Linked DNA regions of Homo sapiens: region 2 is linked to region 1. The links are contacts of gene promoters, found by promoter capture Hi-C in human tissues and cell types (Jung and others, 2019). All regions are on one chromosome and are shown on one strand. The core of a region is centred on a gene start or on the middle of the fragment in contact, and the rest is flanking DNA. Distances in the headings are between cores, read along the strand shown. Region 1 holds the start of ZNF317 (zinc finger protein 317). Region 2 holds the start of OR7D4 (olfactory receptor family 7 subfamily D member 4).

Region 1 (3,301 bases), core at 696-3,195:
TGATCCCGGGAGGCGGAGGTTGCGGTAGCTGAGATCTCACCATTGCCCCCCAGCCTGGGAAACAAGAACGAAACTCCATTGCAAAAAGAAAAAAAAAAAGGAAAAAAAAGATGAGAGATGAATGTTGGCGAGGGCATCAAGCAAAGTGAACCCTAGTACATTGTTGGTGGGAATGCAGACTGGTACAACCTTTGTGGAAAACAGTATTCAGGCTCTTAAAGAAATCTACAACAGAACTACTATATGACCCAGCAATTCCTCTTTTGAATATATGCCTAAAAGAGATGAAATAATCACCTCATAACGATGTCTGCACTTTCATTTTCATTGTAGCATTATTTACAATATCCAAGTTACGGAAACAACCTGAATGTCCATTGATGCTCACATGAATACGAAATACAAAATAGCAGCTATGTAGTCTGAATAATATTCTATCTCTTTTGTATTTATATATGATGTCAACATTAATATCATATAATATTGATATATATTTCATATTATATTAAATATTAATATAATATGTTGTATATAAATATATACCTATTACATAATAGATATTCCCATTATGTTATATATCATGTAATATATTATATGTAATATATGTATATAATATACTATATGAAATACATATTATATATTATATGTATTATTATATGTATATATGCTATATATTATGGTGTATATATTATGTATTATGAAATATATATTACGTTATGTAATATAGATTATATATTATATATGAATATCTTATATCCATATATATTCCATACATACATTTTATATGTGTGTGTATATATATATATACGCACCATGGTCCATCCCCTCAATAATATATTTTCCAAAACCTCAAATTTCCTTCTCTCTGTCTTTTATAATACCTGCCCTGGATAATACTAACCATCTGTCTCTCCTGCCTATATAATTCTGCCCCTACTGGTTACATGGGAAGCCTTGGTTTCCTAAAGTGTTGAGATTACAGGTGTGAGCCACTGTACCCAGCCTGATTCTGGAATTTTGTATATGCAGACTCCTCCTGCTAAAATAATATATATTATATATAATATATATTCCATAATATATATAACATACATACATATATTATTTTAGCATATATTATATAATATACGGTAATAATACACATAATACATAATTATAATAAATATGATATAATATATATTCCATTGTATAAAACATATAATATATATAACGGAATATTATTCAACCTTGAAATAGAAGGAGGTCCTGACATTTATCACAAGATGGGTGGACCTGGAGGACATTACGCTAAGTGAAATAAGCCAGACACAAAAAGAAAAATATTGCATGACGTCACTTACATGAGGAACTTTTTTTAATCAAGAGAGACAGCTCAAATACACAGAAATAAAGAATGAGGCAGTTGGGGAAGAAAATGGGAAGATGTGGGTCAAAAAATACAAAATAGCAGATATGCAGGATGAACACCACACAGGTGATGGTGATTTTACGCCCTTCCCAAGGTGTCATTCAGAGGCACGTGGTCTCCATCTGACCCTCACTGGTGATATTGATTTGATCACCTGGTCCAGATGTTGTCCAATTTCTTCGCTGTACAATTTCTATTACTTTTTCTCCATTCCAACATACGAGCAGTTTATAGAGAGGCATTTAAGGCAATTCAAATATTCTGCTCGTCATGCAAATGTCCCCCAGTTGTGTCATGTAGATGACAATTCTTGCCTGATTCAACCTTTACCACTACGATGGCTACAAAATGCTGTGGGTTGTGGTTGAAAATTTGAGTCTTGAGTAGAAATTGGAGAAATATGCTGGACCGTCAGATTCCACCGGGGCACGGCCGCCATGCCAATCCAAACTTCAAAACTACAATTCCCAGCATCCTCTCCGCCCCGCTTCCGTATTAGACGCCGCCAATGAAGTCCCGCGAGAATTGGAAGGCGGCAGTGAAGCGGAAGCCATTACTCTCTGGAGTCGATTGCCCCGAGACACATGGGCCAAGGAGGGGTCAGCGGCGAATTCTTTCGGCCTGTTGGGGACCCCTCGTGTCCCCACGCCAGACTGGACCTCCCGTATGAACTTCTCTTCGCATCGGCGGCGGCTTCCGTCACCTCCGCTCCCCCGATCCTATTCCCAGTCGTGTAAGCCCTGCTTTCCTTAACCCTTCTCCCCCTCAGTTCCAGGGGTCACGGGAGGCCTATCTGGCGGTGAGGACTAAGAGGGTACGAGGGTCGGGGGCTAAAGAGCTAGGCATCCAGACGAGGGGTGCGTTTAGATCTCGCGATCAGCGATATGAAAAGCTGGGGACGCGAAGGATAAAATTGGACCATTGCAGCTAGTGATGAGAGAAGCATTGGTCACCTGATCCTGAAAAGCCCTAAGTCTCTGGTGGGGGCGGAAAAGCCCGGCTGAAGTGAATTCAAGAGTTTGGGGGCAGTTCAGGAGATTGGGGGGCGTCAGGATTTGGACATCGCGAGGAGAAATCACCTTCTTTCTGCGCTGTAGTCAATTTTATCTCGTGAATGTCAGCACATTGGTGTTCTTATTAGCACTTACCTTGAGTACCTTTTATATTTTTAATTTAAGACCTTCTGGTTGCACTTTTTTATTTATTTTAATTTTAGTGGACTCTTGTAAATAGCCTATATGTATATTTACTATTCAGTTCAACATTTTGTTAATTAACTTGAGTTAGTCCAGTTATACTTATCGTGATTATTAATATTTTCCATTGAATTTTACCGTCTTATTTTGTGGTGTGTCCTTTCCTATGCACATATTTTAACACTGGAAAATAGGACATACATGCAAAAAAAGTATGATTACACACACACGCAGACTTACACACACTTAAAAGGACAACAGTAAAGCGAATTTACAAACCAGGCCAAGAAAGAGATTATTAAATCTCAGAAAGCTGTGTGCCTCTTCTAAACTGCATCCTCCTCTCCCACCAATACTGTCTCCGTGGATTTGACTGCGTATACATCTTTTCCAGAAAATATATTTCCTAAATTTTGGTAATTATTTGTGAATGAACTCAGGCGCTTCAGTATTTTTGGAAACAATCTTTTTCTGTATTGATTCAAGCACACCTTTGTAATTTAGAGATTTCTAAATATCTTGTAGATGAAGTACTTACACCTAGCCATTCTTTTTCAGGAATGTCATGGCTTAAATTCTAGTCAGTTCACCAAATTCCACATACTGGACTTTTGTTTTCAAGTTGTGGTGAATCTATATTTGAACTTTGGGAATATTGTCGTTTTTATGCCATTGAGTTGCAGTTAATTGATTTACA
Region 2 (6,945 bases), core at 108-2,607, 79 kb after region 1:
TGTTTGAATATAGACATAAATTTAATAATACAGTAAATAACATATTCATATCTCTTTTAAAATAATGATAAATGAAGTAGTAATACCAGCTCTAACAATGGAAGCAGGTTTAATGTAAGAATGTCTGCATAATTCATCACAAAAACAGGTCAGTAAAGAGAAATCATAAACAAAATCACAATAGAAAAAATGCATTTGAAAAAGATTATCAACCAGGGCAGATCCTCTCAATAAAGGAAGAAACCAAGGACAATTGCTTAACCCGATAAACAATGGTTGTTTTAATACCACAGGCAACAAGATATGCTATGTTAAAACAGTAAGGGGTTTAAATTCCTGGATACACCAAAGGCCGTCTACTACAATTTCAATCTTTTGATATTTTGGTGAACATGCAAATGGATTTTTTTTTGGGGGGGACATGGTGTCACTTTGTCACCTGGGCTGGAGTGCGGGGTGCAGTCTCAGCTTACTGCAACCTCTGCCTCCTGGGTTCAAGCAATTATCCCATCTCAGTCTCCCGAGTAACTGGGATTGCAGGTGTAAGCTAAGGTGTCAGGCTTTCTTTTTTTGTTATTGTTTAGTAGAGACAGGGTTTTGCCATGTTAGCCAGGCTGGTCTCAGGGTCCTGGCCTCAAGTGATCTGCCCGCCTCGGCCTCCCAAAGTGCTGGGATTATAGATGTGAGCCACTACGTTCAGCCAAGGGATTTTTAATATGAGAAAAAAAATTGGACTGCATGTTGAATGTCAGAAATAATTGTATTATTTCTATATGATATCATGGATACTAAGTTGAAATAGCAAAAACATAACAGCTAGTAAGTGCTGTAAATAAGTCACCATCTCCACCACATCAACCCTACCCCCAATCCCCAGACCACTCTGGGTCTGGTAACCAATAATCTGCCAGGAAAAATATAGAATATAATAGAAAAATCCAATCACATTAGGAACACATAGACAATACCTTGAGCATAGTAGATCTTCCGTGAGTAGTTAATGAATAAGTAACTGGATGTACGAAATTCAACAGGAGACTAAAGTTTATAGGAAAGAGTGCAGGAGAGTTAGAGACTGTTCGGAAAATAACTTATTAAAGACGGGCCCTGGATTCCAAGGAGTGAGAACAGAAGGTGGGAGACACTGGTTTCTGTGAAAACTAAAGTACCATCAAAGTACAGGGACTTCACCTTCATAGACTCAATAAGTATGGGACTTTCCAGGCTCATTACTGTGAAGGCTAGTACTTATTCTCTCTCCTCTTTTCCTTCTTACCCCACCAGCCCTCACTGGGTCACACTAACTCTGATGGTTATCACTGAAGTTTTCTCTTCTACACGATCTGTTCCTAGGAAGCCGTACTGGGTTTTTTCCAAAGGCTGGGAGCAGAGAATTACAGGTGAGGTTGTTTAAACAGGGGCACATTTTAAGTTTCCAGTGTCTCAAGAGTTGAATTCTCAGAGCACCTTATTAAATAAATTGTTCTATTTTCTTCCCACTCTCCAAAGAGTTTGGCTCCCTTTGAGTAGTAAGAAGATGATAGAATGGAAATTTTTCAGTTAATTTTGTGATGAAATAGGCAGTGGTAGGGCATGATGGATTTATTTCCCCCAAGAAGAAATTCTTTCTTCGGTTTAATTTGAAAGTCACAAGTTTTGCCCTAAGGAAAGATTAATTTCTGCAAGGAACTAAACTCAGGAATCATCTCCAAGCGATGTGACTCCCTTGAAGAGTCTTTGGAGATTTTATGGATCCCTCGGTGTTGAAAATTCATGGAAACAAAAATGTCTTTTCTTTTTAAATATTTTTTCAAATTATTTTTATATATTTTTTTAAATTATAGAATTATATGTATGTATCATGTACAACTTGATATTTGGAAATATATATACATTGTGGACATTCAATGTATCTAATTAACATACGCATTATCTCACAGAGTCGTTATCCTGGTGAGAACACTTAATATCCACTCTCTTAGCATTTTCAAAGAATATCATATATATCATCATTAACTAAAGTCATCCTGCTGTACAATAGATCTCTTGAACTTACTTCTCTTATATAGCTGTAATTTTGTATTCTTTTACTAACATCTCCACAACACCAACACTACTCCTCAACCCCAAACCACTCTGGGTCTGGTAACCAACATTCTACTTCTTTGAAATCTGGATTCTATTTCTCTGAGATCACCTTCGTTAGATTCCACATATGAGTGAGATCATGTGATATTTGTCTTTCTGTGCCTCCCTTATTTCACTTAACACAATGTTCTCTGAGTTCATCCATGTTGCAAATGACAGGATTTCCTTGTGTTTTATGGATGAATCATATTCCATTGTGTATATATACTACATTTTCTTTATCCATTCATTTATTTGCAGACAACTAGGTTGATTCTGTGTCTTGGCTACTGTGAATAATGCTCCAATAAACATGGGAGTGCGATATCCCTTCCACACACTGACTTCGTTTCTTATTGATATATACCCAGTAGTGGACTGCTGGATCATATGGTAGTTCTATTTTTAAGTTTTTGAGGAACCTCCATACTCTTTTCCATAATGGTTGTACTAATTTACATTCCTACCAACAGTGTAGAAGGGTTTCCATTTCTTCATATCCTGGCCAGCACTTACTATCTTTTGTCTTTTTAGTAATAGCCATTTGAGATGAAGTGAGGTGATATCTCATTGTGGTTTTCATTTGCATTTCCCTGATGATTAGTGAAGTTAAACCTTTTAAAAATGTATGTTGGGCCGGGCGCAGTGGCTCACGCCTGTAATCCCAGCACTTTGGGAGGCCTAGACGGGCGGATCACAGGGTCAGGCGATCGAGACCATCCTGGCTAAAGGTGAAACCCCGTCCCTACTAAAAATACAAAAAATTAGCCGGGCGTGGTGGCGGGCGCCTGTAGTCCCAGCTACTTGGGAGGCTGAGGCAGGAGAATGACTTCAACCCGGGAGGGGGAGCTTGCAGTGAGCCGAGATCGCGCCACTGCACTCCAGCCTGGGTGACAGAGCGAGACTCGTCTCAAGAAAAAAAAAATGTATGTTGTCCATCTGTGTGTCTTCTTTTGACAAATGTCTTTCAGGTCTTTTGCCCTTTTTTTTTTTTTTTTTTTTTTTTTTTTGAGACGGAGTCTCGCTCTGTCACCCAGGCTGGAATGCAGTGGCGCGATCTCCGCTCGCTGCAAGCTCCGCCTCCCGGGTTTACGCCATTCTCCTGCCTCAGCCTCCCGAGTAGCTGGGATTACAGGCGCCTGCCACGACGCCCGGCTACTTTTTTGTATTTTTAGTAGAGACGGGGTTATCACCGTGTTAGCCAGGGTGGTCTCGATCTCCTGACCCCGTGATCCGCTCTCCTCTGCCTCTCAAAGTGCTGGGATTACAGGCGTGAGCCACCGCGCCAGGCTGTCTTTTGCCCATTTTAAAATTGGGTCGTTTTCTTCCTACTGAGTTGTTTGAGCTTCTTACGTATTTTGGATATTAGCCCCATATCACATGTCTAGTTTGCAAATATTTTCCTCCATTCTGTAGTTTGTCTCTTCACTCTACTGTTTCCTTTGCTGTGTGGAGATTTTTAGTTTAATGTAATTCCATTTGTCTATTGCTTTTGTTGTCTGTGCTTCAGAGGTCATATCCAAAAAAATCACTGCTCAGACCACTATCATGAGGTTTTCCTCTTTTGTTATTTTCTAGCTTTTCTATTTTAGGTTTTACATTTAAGACTTTAATCCATTTTGAATGGATTTTCGTATATAGTGTGAAGTAAATACCTAATTTCATTCTTCTCTGCCTGGATATCCAGTTTTCCCAACACCATTTATTAAAGAGACTGTCCTTTCCCCCTTGTGAGTCTTTGGCACCTTTGTTGAAAATCAGTTGGCTATAAATACATGGATTTATTTCTGTGGTTGATATTTTGTTCAGTTGGTCTATGTATCTAGTTTTATGCCAGCACCATGCTGTTTTGGATATTACAGCTTTGTCAAATAGTTTTAAATCAGGTAGTGTGATGCCTCCAGCTTTGTTATTTTGGCTCACATTGCTTTAGCTATTTGGTGTCTTTAGTGATTCCACAAAAATTATTTCTGTGAAAAATGTTTTTACAATTTTGACAGGGTTTGCATTAAATCTGTAGATTGCTTTGGATAGTATGGACATTTTAATATAGCAATTCTTCCAGTTCATGAACATGGGATATCTTTCCATTTATTTGTATCTTCTTTAATTTCTTTCAACAATGTTTTATAGTTCTGGGTGTACAAATTTTTCACCTCCTCAGTTAAATTTATTCCTAAGCATTCTATTTTTGGGGGTACCAATTATAAATAGGATTATTTTGTTGATTTCTTTTTTGAGTAGTTTGCTGTTAGTATATAGAAACACTATTGATTTTTATATGTCGATTATGTATCCTCCAACTTTACTGAGTCTTTTTTGTTAGTTCTAACAGTTTTTGGCAGTCTTCAGAGTTTTCTATACATAAGGTCATGTCATCTGCAAACAGGGAAAACTTAACTTCTTACTTTCCAGTTTGGATGTCTTTTATTTTTTTTCTCTAACCTAATTGATTTAGCTAGAACTTCCACTACTATATTGAGTAGAAGTGGTGAGAACAGGCATTCCTTTCTTGTTCTGGACCCTAGATAAAATGTTTTCAATTGTTCCCCATTGAGTGTGATGTTAGCTGTGGGTTTCTTGTGTGTGGTTTTTACTATGTTGAGGTATATTCCTTCTATATCTAACTCATTGAGTCTTTATCATTAAAGGATGTTAATTTTTGTCAAATGTTTTTTTCTGCATCTATAGAAATGGTCATATGGCTTTTGTTCTTCATTCTGTGAGTTTGATGTTTCTTGTTGTTTAATTTGCATAATTTGCACCATCCTTGTGAGGATAAACTGCTGGTCTTTTCAAGATAGAAGGAGCCCCATGTGGTCAACCTGCTCCCCTGGCTGGCTGGTCTCCTCAAGAAAGAAGGCCCTCTGGGTGTTCTGCTATTGTCTCTTGCTGACCATTCGGACATTCCGAAGCAGCACCAGCTCAATGGATCTTTGCAAATGGGAGGATCAGCCCTTGTGGCCACTCTGTTTATCAGGCCATCATACCATCAGGTGGCCAATGATAAAGGCTGGAAAATGTTATGTGGCAAAATGAATGCCTATCTGCCTCCTATGTGACATACAACACAAATATTTTCATTTATCATATCCAGTCCTCTATGTCCATCTACATACCTGTCTACACTGTTTCATCATTTTCTTTCAAAGCCCATGACCAGGTGGTCCCACCACCTCAAATGACTTTTTCTTCCAGACAACGTGGATGACCAGATGTGCCGCTTGCAGTTCCACCCTTTGCAGAGATTTTTTCTATACACCCCTTTTTCAGGGTGTCCCTGAACTTGGCTATAATGAAGCCATGGCTCATTTTTTATTGTACTCACATACCAAGCCAATCTGTCTATAAAGCAAACTCAGGCATTTTTCTCTTCTTTTTTTTTTTTTTTTTTAATAGTACAGGACATCTCCTGCTCCCCAATGGACCCTAGGTACAAGCTAAAGGCGTGGTGTTGGTGCGATAATGGTGAATGCCATTGGGATCTGCTGGAGTCTTGGCTTTTTTTTTCAGACTGAATCTTGCTCTGTGGCATAGACTGGAGTGCAGTGGCACAATCTCGGCTCACTGCAACCTCTGCCTCCTGGGTTCAAGCAATTATCGTGCCTCCGCCTCCCGATTAGCTGGGATAACAGGTGTGTGCCACCACACCCAGCTAATTTTTTGTATTTTTAATAGAGACAGGGTTTCACCATGTTAGCCAGGATGGTCTCGATCTCCTGACCTCGTGATCCACCTGCCTCAGCCTCCCAAAGTGCTGGGATTACAGGTGTGAGCCACTGCACCCAGCCGGGGTCTCGGCTTTCTACACGTGCAGCTTTCTCATGCCTCTGGTCCTGTTTGGGTTCATTCTCAGATGTGCCATTTCCACCATGGATTGGGGCTGGGCCTGTCTAATGTTACGACTTAGTAGGGCCCATAGAATCAGGTTATAGTGGGAAATTTCATATATGTGGTCATTGGTACCCCGTCATCAAGCATCCCATATCTACAGGACTTGGTAACAAACCAGGAACTATTTCTCAAAGACATATAAATATTTCCAGTGGATGGCATAGCCTCATTCTAGAATCCTTAAAACCTGATCATGATTTTCCCACTAAGAGATTCCATATGGCCAGGCATGGTGGCTCACACCTGTAATCCCAGCACTTTGGGAGGCTGAGGCCAGTGGATCACTTGAGCCCAGGAGTTCAAGACCAGCATGGCCAACAAGGTGAAACCCTGTCTCTACTAAAAAATAAAAAATACAAAAAATTAACTGAGCATGGTGGTGCAAGCCTGTAATCCTAGCTACTTGGGAGGCTGAGGCAGGAGAATCACTTGAACTGGGGAGGTGGAGGTTGCAGTGAGCCAGAATCGTGCCACTGCACTTCAGCCTGGGCAATGGAGTGAGACTTGGTCAAAACAAAAAAAAAAAAGAGAGAGAGATTCCATAGATGCACTCTGAATTTTGTTCACCAATGACCTTCAACACCATAGATCTAGCAGATAATATGGCCCAAGCATAGGGGTGTATGATGTGAGAAGAGGAGATTATGTTGGTATGTGGGTGATCCATTTAAACACTTATCAGTAGACTTTCTCTCAATTTTCACAATCAATGGTCAAATGCAACAGACATGACCTGAAAAAGAAATGACAACCAGGACTTGGAATGCTTAGGGATGAAGGTCAAGGTCACCCCACCACCTGAATCACCCAACAACAGAAGTGTTATACAAGGAGAGGGGAGGTCGGGTGCGGTGGCCCATGTCTGTAATCCCAGCACATTGGGAGACTGAGGTGGGCAGATCACCTGAGGTCAGGAGTTCAAGA

What was found. Contacts are between HindIII fragments. The study calls those that stand out against the background at their distance.
Region 2: the fragment with the promoter of OR7D4 here is called in contact with the fragment with the promoter of ZNF317 in region 1 in 1 of the 25 tissues and cell types used here (adrenal gland).

What each region holds. Positions count from the first base shown.
Region 1 is chr19:9,138,452-9,141,752 of GRCh38, forward strand. It overlaps ZNF317 (zinc finger protein 317), which reads left to right and starts at 1,946. Exons shown (of 7, transcript NM_020933.5): 1 at 1,946-2,141. RefSeq lists enhancers at 1,609-1,708, 1,759-1,968. The HindIII fragment of the contact is 13,678 bases long and covers 1-3,301 here.
Region 2 is chr19:9,218,232-9,225,176 of GRCh38, forward strand. OR7D4 (olfactory receptor family 7 subfamily D member 4) reads right to left here and starts at 1,358. Exons shown (of 2, transcript NM_001005191.3): 1 at 969-1,358. It also overlaps a transcript of OR7E24 not described here. The HindIII fragment of the contact is 21,358 bases long and covers 1-2,771 here.